Linked DNA regions of Homo sapiens: region 2 is linked to region 1. Evidence: promoter capture Hi-C in 16 types of primary human blood cells and fetal thymus (Javierre and others, 2016). All regions are on one chromosome and are shown on one strand. The core of a region is centred on a gene start or on the middle of the fragment in contact, and the rest is flanking DNA. Distances in the headings are between cores, read along the strand shown. Region 1 holds the start of GRM1 (glutamate metabotropic receptor 1). Region 2 overlaps ADGB (androglobin).

Region 1 (4,587 bases), core at 1,150-3,649:
CTTAGGGAAAAAAAGATCAGAACCAGAATGAGAAAGACCTTTTGTTATTGACTAGAGGTATTGTTTTCCTTCCTAAGTTTCATGGAACACACTGAAGAGTATTTGAAACTGCCTCATGTGGTTTGTCCCCTCCAGTCTGACATGGCACCATTCCATAATATAATAATGACCTGAGCAAGGCGATTATAAGCTGACCCATAAGGGACCAACGTAAGCTGATCTCTCTGCTCTGCAGATGACACAAATAGAAAGCTTTGAACAAGAGTAGAAAGACACACTGTCACTTGTCTTTTCCCCTGAAAAAGCCGGGCCACATTCTGCTCAGCCAACATGTTCCCAGAGGAATGTGATTTAACTTCCGCTTTTCACACAGTCAGAAGCAACACCATAGACCTGTAGGGAAGGTGATGGCCGCCTGGGAGGAATTTGGATAAGTATTTGTCACTCCAGTATTTTCATGTGACCTGACTCTCATTCTCAATTTAGTTACATCTTGACCTGAAAATGCAGCCACAATATGTCTCTCTTCATTTGGCATACCTTAATTCATAATGGGCATGCCTGTCCTTTCCCTTCTCCCACCCTATGCAGCCTCTTCCTGATTTCCCTTGCAATCTACTAATAGAGCCTTTCTTTAGATGTCTGTACATGTGTTTACACTCTGTTTCCCTCTGTAGGGACTTTACTCGCAGAAAGAGAAAATATATTTGAGTCCCTGAGATATATATACAAAGATATCTACCCCAAAGCAGCCTAGGCAGTTCTCCACTTCTTTGGCCAGATTGTCTGACTATTCACGTATCTGGCAGCTTCTATACGACCCCTCATATAGTAAAGGAATTAATATTCCCCACTTCCTCCTAGTTTGTCTCCCCTCCTCCCTCTATCAAACGACTGATTTTTATACATGAGATAATAGACAAGCCTTGGGTGACCTGTTTTTTTTTTTCTTCCCTCCCCCTCTTTTTCCCTTGCGGTAAAATAGTGCTGAAGAAAGAGGGCACTAGTGTACAGCCCAGATCGCATCCTTGCACCGTCTGGATTAGAGCTGAGGCGTCTGCAAGCCGAGCGTGGCCACGGTCCTCTGGCCCCGGGACCATAGCGCTGTCTACCCCGACTCAGGTACTCAGGTATGTCTCAAGTCCATGTCCTCCAAACAGACTCAGGTGAGCGGACACTTCCTCCGGTGAAACCCACCCACAACGGCAGACAAAGTCCCAGTCTATCAGATTTTCCTCCGGGTCCCAGGCGCATTCTCGCTTATGTATTTCTTTTCGTCCTGTATCCTCAGGAAGAGTCGGGACCAATGGGTGCCTGGGTTTTCTTTCTCCTTTTTCTGCCTCACCTCCTGTGCTCTCCTCGCCCGCTCCCATAGCCCCCTTTTCGTCGACTCTCACCTTGAGAAAAGGAGCAGGGGAGGAACGGGAGAGGGAGCCAACTTCAGCCCCGCAGGCGGCTGAGATTTGGCGCCTCTGTCCCCAAGCGGGTGGGTTTGGATATATACCTGCACAAGCGGTGCAAGGTGATGAGAATGAGGGCGGAGGGGCGGTGGGGACTCGAGTGGAAGGGAGTGTGTGTGTGTGTGTGTGTGTGTGTGTGTGTGTGTGTGTGTGTGTATGGGTAAAGAACTCAGAGGAGGGAGGTTGAAAGAGCAAAGCGGGTCAGGGAATTGCAACTCACTGGTCAAAGCGTCCCTTGCAGGCCCTGCCAGGGAATGTCTGGCTGGACCGAGCACTGTCCAGGGTCCTGAAGGCGGCAGGGCTCAGGCTGCCGCGGCGAGAGCAACCCGGAAGCTCCCCTCCGTTCCCTTTCTAGCAACTATGCAAACCCCAAAGCAAGCGCAGGACCCCCCCTAACCCGTCCACCCACCGCGGGAAACAAGTTACCTTATCTGCACCCCTTCTTCTTGAACATACACAGCAAGCCTGACTTCTTACGGGGGAAACATACCAAACTCCTCCATACGGAGACTTTACCAGGCGTTGCCTTAGTAACTAATGTGGATTTTCTTCAAGCTGGCAAATTTATATTTACAGCTGATTTTATGTCAGGGCTTCTTCAACCCCTCAAAATTAAAGTAAAAGGTGCATCCTTTGTTTACGTTTATTTTAAAGTCGCGCTTCCACCTTTACAATGAGTTTCCAAATTTTCTTCTGAAAAAAAGTTGATCTTTTCCAATCCGGAAAGTTCTCTTGGGTTGAAGGACCTAGCTCCTCCCCTCCTCTCTGCTCACCTTCCCCACCGCCCTCCAAGTTAGAAAGCATGATAGGTTTTAGGGGACCAGGAAACGACTTAAGGTTGGAGGAGCGGGCGAGTTGGCGGGGCTCTGCGCCGCCTGGACCCGTGAGGACAGAGGGGGCAGGACACCCCGCCTTCCTCAGTGACCACAGCTGCGCTCCAAGCTGTTCCTGCAGCCGATATCAGGATGTGCCGAAATGAAACGGACAAGGCAACTGTTAACATTATAGACCCCAGAGTTTTAACACAGGTCCTCTGATGACAAGGTTGTGATTTTTCTCTGTCTTTTGTCAGCAGCATCTAGCTCACCGCTGCCAACACGACTTCCACTGTACTCTTGATCAATTTACCTTGATGCACTACCGGTGAAGAACGGGGACTCGAATTCCCTTACAAACGCCTCCAGCTTGTAGAGGCGGTCGTGGAGGACCCAGAGGAGGAGACGAAGGGGAAGGAGGCGGTGGTGGAGGAGGCAAAGGCCTTGGACGACCATTGTTGGCGAGGGGCACCACTCCGGGAGAGGCGGCGCTGGGCGTCTTGGGGGTGCGCGCCGGGAGCCTGCAGCGGGACCAGCGTGGGAACGCGGCTGGCAGGCTGTGGACCTCGTCCTCACCACCATGGTCGGGCTCCTTTTGTTTTTTTTCCCAGCGATCTTTTTGGAGGTGTCCCTTCTCCCCAGAAGCCCCGGCAGGAAAGTGTTGCTGGCAGGAGCGTCGTCTCAGCGCTCGGTGGCCAGAATGGACGGAGATGTCATCATTGGAGCCCTCTTCTCAGTCCATCACCAGCCTCCGGCCGAGAAAGTGCCCGAGAGGAAGTGTGGGGAGATCAGGGAGCAGTATGGCATCCAGAGGGTGGAGGCCATGTTCCACACGTTGGATAAGATCAACGCGGACCCGGTCCTCCTGCCCAACATCACCCTGGGCAGTGAGATCCGGGACTCCTGCTGGCACTCTTCCGTGGCTCTGGAACAGAGCATTGAGTTCATTAGGGACTCTCTGATTTCCATTCGAGATGAGAAGGATGGGATCAACCGGTGTCTGCCTGACGGCCAGTCCCTCCCCCCAGGCAGGACTAAGAAGCCCATTGCGGGAGTGATCGGTCCCGGCTCCAGCTCTGTAGCCATTCAAGTGCAGAACCTGCTCCAGCTCTTCGACATCCCCCAGATCGCTTATTCAGCCACAAGCATCGACCTGAGTGACAAAACTTTGTACAAATACTTCCTGAGGGTTGTCCCTTCTGACACTTTGCAGGCAAGGGCCATGCTTGACATAGTCAAACGTTACAATTGGACCTATGTCTCTGCAGTCCACACGGAAGGTAGGCATTATATTTGGGAAAGAAGGGTACTGAGAAAGTCAGGGCAATGCATGATGTGCTCCTGGGATCATAGTATTGTTCCTGTTTATTTCTAGCACTGTGGGGAACGGAGTTTACCCTTCTCAGTACTGCCCACCCAGGCATTGCCTTTTATCCTCATTTCCTTACAATTATAGTGTAGGAAAATTGTACCCCATAGAATATCTGAGGATAATAGGAGCTGAAAGGGTATCAAACTTTCCATGCAAAGTGTCCAGCAGTAGATTTGACTTGAATACTTGTTTGCCCTCATATTTTGAGTTTGCGTTTGGAAGGCTTATTTGTCCAAGGTGTTATATTGCCCTTCAGTGACTGGCTATGACTTTCCAGGTGTAATGAGTTAATTCAGTGTGAGTGATTGGCAAAAAGAAGTTACTATTCCACAAATAGGACTTCAAAGCTTTATCTTTCTTTAACAGTTGAAGATTTTCTTTGTCCTCTTGTACCCCTTCTTACATATCCAAAACTTTCCTGTGAATGTAGGATTAATGCAGTCATCTCCCTCAGTATATCAGAAACTTATATTTTTACTTCTGGAGTACCTTAGTTACAAAGAAAAAGTAAGTAATTTAAATAATGTATTTTCTTCTTACTTTATAGGCTAAAATCATCCAGATTCCCTCACTCCCCCAAGAATTATCTTGTTTTATGAGAAATAACACTGGTGACCACTTGGATTTGAGTTTTGGTTTCTAGTCTTTTTTCTTCTAACACAATGAACTTACATATTAGAATTAAAGTTAGATCAGTTATAAAATACTAATGAATGGATAGCAGATATTAGGTTTATAATGTCTTTCTAAAATGCAATAGATTAACCTAAGGTTAAAAGCTTTGATTTTTCCAGAGACTTATGGATGTGAATTTTCAAAAATTTTTTATATAAAGATTTTCTAGACTCTCTTCACCTTAGGTTATATACATTTTTTAATAAAAGGGGATTTCTGAGCTCAGCTACTCTTAAGTCCCCCAGTAGGTTTATGAAAAAGCTGA
Region 2 (4,718 bases), core at 931-3,430, 590 kb after region 1:
AGAATGAGATTTTTTTTCATCTTTTTGTGTCCTTTTCAATGTTATTTATCAGTGTTTTTTAGTTTTCTTTGTAGAGATCATTCACTTCTTTTGTTGCATTTATTTATAGGTATTTTATTGTCTTTTAGCTATTATAAATGAGATTGCTTTCTTGATTTCTTTTTCAATTGTTCACAGTTGGTGTATGAAAATGCTACCTATTTTTGTATGTTGATTTGTGTGCTGCAACTTTCCTGAATTCATTTTTCAGTTCTGTAATTTGGTGGAGTCTTTAGGTTTCTCTAAACATAAGATCATGTCACCTGGGAGCAAGTATAATTGGCTTCTTTCTTTCCAATTTGGATGCCCTTTCTTTCTTTCTCTTGCCTAATTGGTTTGGCTAGGACTTCCCATACAATGTTGAATGAAAGCGGTAAAAGTGGGCATCATTGTCTTGTTCCAGATATTAGAGGAAAGGCTTTCAATTTTTTTTTCCTATTTAGTATGATGCTAGCTGTGGGTTTGTTATATGTGACCTTCATTGTTTTCAGGTATATTCCTTCTATGCGCAATTTATGTAGAGTTTTTATCATGACGGGTTATTAAATTTTATCAAATGCATTTTCAATTATCTATTGAAATAATCATATGGTTTTTCTTCTTGATTCCATTGATGCTATGCGTCTCTTATTGATTTGCATATGTTGAACCATCCAAGCATCCCTGGGCTGAATCCCACTTTATCACAGTATATGATTTTTTAAATGTGCTGTTGAATTCGGTTTGCCAGGACAGTTGTTCTTTGAACAACATGGGGCTTAGAGCACCAACCCCTGCACAGTAGAAATTTGTGTATAACTTTTGAATCCCCAAAACCTTAAATACTAGTAGCTTACTGCTGAGTGAAAGCCTTACCAATAACATAAAAGCTTGATTAACACATATTTTGTGTGTCATATGTATATGTTATATATACTGCATTCTTATAATAAAGTAACCTAGAGATAGGAAAATGTTATTTAGAAAATCATAAAGAAGAGAAAAATATATTTACTGTTTATTAAATGAAATTGGATTATCATAAAGGTCTCCATCATAACACCAATTTGTTGGTTTACAGTTGTTCATAACAGTCTCTAATTATCCTTTGTATTTTTGTAGTTATAATGTTTCCTTTGTTGTCTCAGATTTTATTTATTTGAGTCTTACGGTTTTTTTTTTCTTAGTCAAGCTAAAAGTTTCTCTATTTGTTTTATCTTTTCAAAAAATGAACTTTTTATTTTGTGGATTTTTTGTATATTTTTATTCGTCAGAAATAGCTCTGATATTTATTATTTCTTTTCTTCCACTAATGTTGTGTTTGGTTTGTTCTTGCCTTTCTAGTTCCTTGAAGTGCATTATTAAGTTATTTGGTCTTTCTACTTTTTTGATGAAAGTGTTTATTCATGTAAACTTTCACCTTAGAACTGCTTTTGTCATATCCTGCAGTTCTTGTGTTTCCATGTTTATTTGTCTCAATAAATTTTTAAATTTCCTTTTTAATTTCTTCAGTTACACATTTGTTGATCAGGTGCATGTTGTTTAATCACCATGAATTTTTACAGTTTCCAGCATTCCTTTTGCTTTCATTTTGTTTTATTCCATTATAGTCAGAAAAGATACTTGATATGATTTTGATTTTTTAAAATTTGATAAAACTTCTTTTGTGACCTAACATATGGTCTGTCCTGGAGAATGTTTCATGTGCTGTTGAGAAAATGTGTTTTCTGCAGCAGAGGGATGAAATGTTATGTAAATGTCTGTTAGGGCTCTTTCATCTGGAGTGCAGTGTAACTCCAATGTTTCTTTGTTGATTTTCTGTCTAGATCATCTGTCCAATGCTGAAATCCTCTATTGGATTGAAATCCTCTATTACTCTTGTATTGCTGTCCATTTCTCCCTCTATGTCTATTAATATTTGCTTTACATATCTGAGTTCTCCAGTATTAGGTGCATATATTTTTACAATTGCTACATCCTCTTGCTGTATTTACCCCTTTATCATTATGTAATAACCATATATATATAGATAGATAGATATAGATATATTACAATTCTTGACTTAAAGTTTGTTTTTTCTGAATAAGTATAGCTATTTCTGCTCTTTTTTGGTTTTTATTTGTGGGAATATGTTTTTCCATCTCTACACTTTCAGTATGTATGTGTCCTTATGGGCAAAGTGAGTTTGTCATAGACAGAATATTTGGATCATTTTTTAAAAATACATTCAGCCACTCTATTTTTTAATAGGATAATTTAATCAATTTACATTCAAGGTTATTATTGATAGATAACGGTTTATTACTGCCATTTTGATACTTGTTTTTGGGATTTTAAAATAGATCCTTTCTTCCTTTTCCCACCCTCTTACTGTATTTCTTTATAGCTAAATAAGTTTCACTAGCAGTATGTTTTGATTCTCTGCTATTTATTTTTAGTGTATCTATTATAGGTTTTTGCTTTATGGTTACCATGAGGCATACAGAAAATATCTTACAGTTATAACACGTTATTTTAAATTGCTAATGACTTAATCTTGATCACAGTGAAAGCAACAACAAAAATTCTCAACTTCAACATCATCCCCATCCCAACATTGTGACTTTTTGGTATTTCAATTTATGTCTTTTTCTATTTACTATTTACTAATTAACTGTTGTAATTATTTTTAATACTTTTGTCTTTTAGACTTCCTATTAAAAGTATAAATGGTTTACTTAGCCCAGTTACAGTTTTAGAATATTCTGGATTTCTTTTTTCTTATTTTACCAGTCAGTTTAATAACTGCAGATGTTTTTGTTATATGTTAGCATCCAGTTTCTTCTGTATTGAAAAACTCTCTTTTGGTATTTCGTGTAAGACAAGTCTGGTGTTGGTGAATTCCCTCAGCCTTTGTTTGTCTGGGAAAGTCTTTATCTCTCCTTTGAGTTTGAAAGATTGCTTTGCTGGGTATAATCTTACTGTTTGGCAGTATTTTTTCTTCAGCACTTTGAATATCACATTCCAGTCTCTCCTGACTTGCGGGATTTATGCTGAGAAGCCCCCTGAAAGTTATATTGGGACTCCATTGAATGTGATATTTTTATTTTCTCTTGCTGCTTTGATGATTCTTTGTCTTTAATTTTTGGTAACTTAATTATGATGTGCCTTGGGGAATCCCTCTTCGGGTTGAATTTGATTGGTTATGTCTGAGCGTCCTCTCTTTACCTGAAGGTTGTAATCTTTCTCCAGGTTTGGGAAATTTTCAGCCATTATTTCTTTAGATATGCTTTCTAGGCATTTTTCTTTCTTGTTTCCTTCAGAAATTCCTATTGCACAGATATTAATTCACTTGATTCTCTTGTCCCATAATTCTTGTAGGTTTTCTTCACTCACTTTTATTCTTTTTTTTTCTTTTTGCTCCACTGGTTGGATAATTTTATATGTTCCATCTTCAAGCTTGCTAATTCTTTCTTCTGTTTGAGAATATCTGTTGTTGAAGCTTTCTAATGATTTTTTTCAGGTCAGTTATTTTATTCTGTATTGCTAAGACTTCTATTTGGTTTTTGAAAAATTGTTTCTATTTCTTTGTCGTATTTCTCATTTTGTTTTTAGATTGTTTTCCAAATTTTATTTAGTTTTCTGTCAGGTATTTCTGTGATTCTCTAAACCTCTTTAAGAGAATTATTCTAAATACTCTGCCAGATCTCATAGATCTTCAAATCTTCTGGGTCAATTACTGGAGATTTGTTGGTTTCTTTTGGTGATGTCATATTTCCTGAGTTTTCGCAACTCTTATGTTGATTCCTGAGCATTTGATGAGACAGCCACTTCCAGTTTTTGCTGACATTCTTTGGTGGTTTTAGACTTTTACTACTTAGTATTGACTCTTAAACACTGCTCTACTGTTGCTTTCCATCCTGGGAAGAACTTATGTTGAGCACCAGGACTAAAACACTGCACTATAACTAACATGTTGCCCTGTTACTGTTTCCTCGTGTAGAAAAAACTTACAGTGAGCACCAAAACTTAAACTTAGACCCATAACTATATTGCATCCCTGCCATTGTTTTCTGGTCTTGGGAAGACTTAAGTTGGCACTAGGTATTAATTCTGATCTTTTAGTTTTTTTCCAGGCCAGGAAAATCCAGCTAGGGATTTAGGCATTCCCATGGATTGTGCCATCTGTGGCACATAAAAGAGACTGGCCAGTCTCTTTAATGTGGCACCCCCACTGACTGGAGCACAAAGTAGCTGCCAAAATCCATGCATCAGTTACTGTGATTAGTGCCCAGTTCATCACAGGTAGTTCAGCTTTCCTGGTACACCCAATTGCTCCCCTGGAAAGGAGTCAGGGTGGGCTTCCCATGAAGATTCCAAAAGGTGAGGAGATTGACCGTCCACCTCTCATTTCCTCCAATCACCATGGAAACCACAGGTCTAGAGAAATCCTCTTGAGTGGTTATGCCAGCTTGGGAGAGGGGCTGGCACAGTCTAAAATGACTATTCTAGTCACAACTTCTCTGATGCCCTAATGGGTTTCTCTACTTTCCCTCTGTGCTCTGGTGAATTTAGGGAGATATTCTTGTCTTTTAATAGTTTCAAGTTGAATTTCTGTGGGGGAAGTGATGATGCTTAGGATCTTCTATTCTGTCATCTTGCTGTCACTCATAATTATTTTAATATTCACTGTCCATTGAATGGATATTCCATGATTTTTT

Evidence for each region. The method cuts DNA at HindIII sites, captures the fragments that hold promoters and counts their contacts. A CHiCAGO score of 5 or more calls a contact.
Region 2: a fragment that was not itself captured here is called in contact with the fragment with the promoter of GRM1 in region 1 in 1 of 17 cell types (endothelial precursors); the score reaches 7.2 in endothelial precursors.

The regions. Positions count from the first base shown.
Region 1 is chr6:146,026,663-146,031,249 of GRCh38, forward strand. GRM1 (glutamate metabotropic receptor 1) reads left to right here and starts at 2,400. Exons shown (of 8, transcript NM_001278064.2): 1 at 2,400-3,555. The coding sequence starts at 2,856. RefSeq lists enhancers at 2,218-2,718, 2,719-3,219. The HindIII fragment of the contact is 3,742 bases long and covers 251-3,992 here.
Region 2 is chr6:146,617,076-146,621,793 of GRCh38, forward strand. All of the region lies in intron 1 of ADGB (androglobin), which reads left to right. Among named protein-coding and RNA genes, the nearest start is that of ADGB, 20 kb to the left of the region's middle. The HindIII fragment of the contact is 2,548 bases long and covers 907-3,454 here.